2 separate regions of the Homo sapiens genome follow, and region 1 is linked to region 2. The links are contacts of gene promoters, found by promoter capture Hi-C in human tissues and cell types (Jung and others, 2019). All regions are on one chromosome and are shown on one strand. The core of a region is centred on a gene start or on the middle of the fragment in contact, and the rest is flanking DNA. Distances in the headings are between cores, read along the strand shown.

The links. The method cuts DNA at HindIII sites, captures the fragments that hold promoters and counts their contacts. A contact is called where the count stands out against the background at its distance.
Region 1: a fragment that was not itself captured here is called in contact with the fragment with the promoter of PSAP in region 2 in 1 of the 25 tissues and cell types used here (dorsolateral prefrontal cortex).

Annotation. Positions count from the first base shown.
Region 1 is chr10:72,174,842-72,177,541 of GRCh38, forward strand. The region is part of intron 5 of ASCC1 (activating signal cointegrator 1 complex subunit 1); the gene reads right to left. Among named protein-coding and RNA genes, the nearest start is that of ANAPC16, 40 kb to the right of the region's middle. The HindIII fragment of the contact is 4,533 bases long and covers 1-2,700 here.
Region 2 is chr10:71,849,908-71,852,607 of GRCh38, forward strand. It overlaps PSAP (prosaposin), which reads right to left and starts at 1,344. Exons shown (of 14, transcript NM_002778.4): 1 at 1,275-1,344. The coding sequence starts at 1,314. RefSeq lists enhancers at 1-102, 494-1,024, 1,025-1,555. The HindIII fragment of the contact is 10,422 bases long and covers 1-2,700 here.

The sequences.
Region 1 (2,700 bases), core at 155-2,654, 320 kb after region 2:
CCTGGTTTACCTGTAAGTCAAAGGACCTACAAACTTTTTACATGTTCCCACAAAACCTAAATAATTATCTGCTAACAAAATAGATTATGTGTGAGGGATCTACCAATTCACTTTCTGATATTCTATGCAAAGAAAAAGAGAAAATATGCATGCTTCCCCTATACTCGTTGTATTTTCTTTCTTTTTTTATGGCCAAATCTTGTAGAACTGTTTCTGGGCAGGTGATATGAAGTTCATTCATCTAAAGAAGTTATTCAAATAAGGCAAAGTGATGAAAAGAGCATTTGGCTGTGCAACCAGACAGGCCTATGTTCAAATTCTGCCACCTATCAGCAGCATGACCCTAGGTGAGTTACTCAGTTGCTATGAAGCTTAATTTCATCATCTATAAAACAGACAATACTTCTGTCTCAGGTTTGCTCTGCAGATGAAACACATATGAAGTCTCTGGCACACAGTAGTATGGAATAAATACAAGCTTCCCCCTCTTCCTTTTTACATGACTGTGCAGCACTAGACAAATGCCATCTTTGCTCTCCCTTTTAAAGCAGCACTGGAAGCTAAATTAGGCTCTGCTGAGTCATTTCCATTATTCTTTAAGAATGTTCAGAAAAGCTGACTTTGATTTGCAAGTCACTATGTGTTATTAACGAAATACTGTGTTAAGCTGTATAAGCTTTAGAAAAAAGGGTTTTGTTTCTCCTGGCTTATAAATTCTATTTATTCATACATAATTACAAGAAAGTGGAGAGGTTCTTAAAACGTGGACAAACATTCAAGCATGGGCTTTTATACTGACCAGAGAAAAGAACTTCTCATGCATTGTCTAAAGATCTTTACCCATTAAAGAGGAGTGAAGAGCATCTCCCCTCACTAAAGGATGCACCACCCCACTTACCTTAGATGAGCACAAAGAATCCTTCAGCCTACTCTTCTAAAAACTTCACTATTCCTCCATAGTTACTTGAAAGCACTAGTTAGCAAGGCATCTACTCAACTTACATTTATTCCCAAAGACAGACCCTGGTTCCTCTCACGTTTCTGATGGGTTAACAGCGCAAGAGAGATCTGTTGCTGCTTCTTAATGCCACTCCTTCCTTCCCCTCCATTTTGTAACCCATGGGATTACTACAAGTCTTACTTGGTACAGCAATAATTACAATTATAACAACAATAACATTCATTCGGCACTATGTGCCATGCTCTGCTCCAAACACCTTAAACTTATTAACTCATTTACTCTTCATATCAACACTGTAACATTAATACCATTATTATCCCCACTTCAGAGCAGAACTCTGAAATATCTTTGGAATATATCCCCTCCTGAATATGCCACAAACCCTATTCTTCTTTCAATAGACAGTATCGATAGCCTCCCAACTGGTACCTGCCTTGGTGCCCAACTCCTTACCTCTCAAGACATCCTCCACACTGCCTTCAATTTTTTTTCTGTGGTGCTAAGTTCATCACAGTCCTTGCTTAAAATCTTAACTAGTTTGTTTCTTTCTTTCTTTTGGAGACAGGGTCTCGCTCTGTCACCCAGGCTAGAGTGCAGTGGCACAATCATGGCTACTGTAACCTCTATCTCTGGACTCAAGCAATCCTCCTCCCACATCAGCCTCCCAAGTAGCTGGGACCTCAGGTACACACCACCATGCCTGGCTAATTTTTTTTATTTTTTGTGGACACAGAGTTTCACTATGTTGCCCAGGCTGGTTTCAAACTCCTGGACTCAAGGGATCCTCCCACCTCAGCCTCCCAAAGTGTTAAGATTACAGGTGTGAGCTACCATGCCCAGCCTTAACTATTTTCTTACTCTCTATAGGATATTACATTCAAAATCCTTAACCCACACAAGAGCTTTCACAACTTGGGTGCCATGTCATTTCCACTCTTAACTCCTACCTCTTCCTTACTCTACCTCTTTCTAAGTACCAGCCTTAACAAATTCCTCACTCTCCCCTGAATACCTCACAAGTGACATTTCCTCTGCGCAGAATGCTCCCTGCCCCCATTTGCCAGCCTGGCACAAACTCCTGTCCCTTCCAGACTGTTCAATTGTCAGCTCCCTTATCAAGCCTTCTGCAACCACTACAGAATTTCTCCTCTGGGTACACACTGCACTTATCTAGTAGCACTTATCTCACAACACGGTACCTATTTCTGGAAGAAGTCTATTTCCCACACCCTAGAGTATGGGATCCTTAAGAGTAGAGTCCATTGTTGGCACATAATATGTCCTATATGTTATATATACCTGGTATAAAGTAGACATTTAATAACTAGTGCATGAATCAATAAGACACAAAAACCTGTTCAAAACTAGTATCTCCACCGAAATGGGACAATATATGAATCTTGTAAATATTTCCTTTTCTTACTTTCCTACCCAACTTGGTAGGTTTTACAATCAGAACTTGGGGCTTTTTACAATTTTCCTTACAACCAAAGACAACTATCCCATCTTCATTCTAAATCAGTTCAAAAGATAACTACAAATCCTACAACTACCCTTAAACATGAAAAATCCTAAATTATACACTAAAGCTTTTATATAAACATTTTCTTCTTCAGTGACTAATACTAACTGGAAAAAAAATCCTGCCTGAGGGAGTTAGGGGGATGCAGACCCATTACCCATTCTGCCCAGTGTAAGCCTCCATGTTACAATATGAGCAGAATTATGTAGTTTCTGCA
Region 2 (2,700 bases), core at 94-2,593:
ATTTTTTTTAGCTTGCCCAAATTCCTATCTAAGGGGTGTAGGAATCATACCCTACAAACCATAAACTCTCATCAGATGGGTTTTATTTGACCCCATATATCGTGACTTACTTTCCAATCTGACTCTGGCATAACATTTTATAAGACAAGGAAAAAAAAATCAAAATATCTAACCCCAAAATATATTTCCTTGCCATACCTTGAAATTGCCCTGCAAAGTCTCTTGTGGGAAAAATCCACATTCTATAGAGAATCCCCTTTCCCCTATGTTTTCCTTCCTTCCTCTCCAGATCCAGGAGATAATCAACTAAGAGCCAGTCACCCTTTCATTTCCATAGAAATATTTTACAACGTGCTCGCTCTCTTAGTCGGCTACCTGAGAGCTTCCTCTGCACAATAAAACTTGGTCTCCACAATCCTTTATCTTAACTTGAATACTTTCTTTCTATTGATTCTAGGTTTTCAGATAAACTCAACCAATTATCAACTAGAAAATGTTTAAATTTACCTATGGCCTGGAAGCCCCCCGCCGCTTTGAGTTGTTTCGCCCTTCTGAACCAAACCAACGTATTTCTTAAATGTATTTGATTGATGTCTCGTGCCTCCCGAAAATATGTAAAACCCAGCTGTATCCCAACCACCTTAGGCACATGTTCTCAGGACCTCCTGAGGGCTGTGTCACGGGCCATGGTCACTCATATTTGCCTCAGAATAAATCTCAAAATATTTTTACAGAGTTTGACTCGTTTTGTCAACACCTAGAATCCAGAGTAAATACATATGCAAACGTCAATATAGATGATACACATGTGCTTCCTGCAGCTTCGCTACCCTTACAAACAGGCAACTGAAGCCAACGGCCAAAGTGTCCTGCGGGACGGGGCTCCAGCCCACCTCGATCACGTGCGCCCAGCACAGGCACAACACAGCTGCCCAAGGGGTCACCCTACAAGACTCACCCACCCCCACAGTGGGAAGCGCAGCCTGAGGGAAGGCCTCGGGGCCCCAGCCGCGCAGGAACCCACTCGAGCCCCGAAGGAGATGCTGCCCAGGGCCTGGGCCGTCCTCCCGGGGGCATTTTCGCAGCCCGCCCCCCGCAGCCCCCAGCCGCCCAGAGAAAGCCAGAGAAAGCCAGCGAACGCGCCTGCGCAGTGCGCGCGCCCCCTTGCCAACTAGGGCAGGGGGAGCAGAGGGGCCAGGCCCGGCACAGCCCATTCTGGGGCAGATGGACGCTGCGAGGCACCTCCTCCCCAGGATGAGGGTCCCAGGGCTTACCCGCGCCCAGGAGGCTGGCCAGGAGGAAGAGGGCGTACATAGCGCCGTCTGACTCCGCAGTCTGCAATGCGGAGCGTCAGCTGATCCCCCGCAGATATAAATCTGCCCTGCCCCAAAGCCGTCCAGAGCGCAGGCGCTAACCCCGCCCCATCCGGGCCTGCCCGAGCTCAACAGCGCCCTGACTCAGCGCCTCTGAGGGCGCCTGCGCGAAGGGGAGGCCAATAGGAGGGGGCAATGGGAGGGGCGAAAGGAAGGGCTATGGGGAGGAGTGAGGAAGAACTTGGAGAAAGGGAAGGGAAAGGTCATAAAAGAAAAGCCCTACTAATTGAATAGGTCAGAGATTATATATGTAAAATACCTTTTAAATCTCCACATTGTTGGCCGGCCGCGGTGGCTGACGCCTGTAATCCCAACACTTGGGAGGCCGAGGCGGGCGGAGGGTTCAAGACTAGCCTGGGCAACGTGGTGAAACCCCATCTCTACAAAAAAAAAAATACAAAAAAATTAGCCCATTGTAGTAGCGGGTTTCACATAGAATAGCTTGGGGTTTCACATAGAATAAGTAGTCGTGTAACAGGGTACAGGGCTCAGTCCTGGCCAGGGGCACGTGGGGGCAGGTGGTGGCACCTGGTCAAAGGCAAGTCTGGGCTGGGCATGCTGGCTCACTCCTGTAATCCTAACACTTTGGGAGGCCGAGGCGGGCGGATCATGAGGTCAGGAGTTCAAGACCAGCCTGGCCAATATGGTGAAACCCTGTCTCTACTAAAAATACAAAAATTAGTCAGGCGTGGTGGCGCTCGCCTGTGGTTCCAGCTATTTCAGGAGGCAGAGGCAGGAAAATTGCTTAAACCCGGGAGGTGGAGGTTGCCGTGAGTCAAGATCGCACTACTGCACTGCAGCCTGGACCACAGAGCGAGAGAGATTCCCATCACCAAAAAAAAAAAAACAAAAAACTTTTAAGCCTCACATTGTGGTACCGTTAAAGATGTAATACCATTCCTCACCCATCATAAGAGATCATAAGAGTCACAACCAACACTCCTGTAACGAGACAGCTTAAGAGAAAAGCATAACAAATTTATGTAATCAACGTTTTATGTGACATGGAAGCCTTCAGAAATTAAGACCCAAAGACCCTCTGCCTGTGGCTGCCCCTGCCAGGACCTGAACAGAGAATGATGATGACCCTCTCCAGAAGGATAAGAACCTGCCAACCGCAAGGCAGGGAAAGGAGGGGAATCTTAGCCCCTTAGGGCAGGCACTTAGAGGTCATTTACCTGTAGGGACATTGAGCCTAGGAGAGGGCAAGACGTTTATCCAAGGTCACACAACAGGTAGAGATAGAACCTGGCCCGAAGCCAGGTTTCCTGACCCAGGAAGGGCAAACCTACAGTTCCTCCAACTTCCTCCAATCTGCAATCCGCTC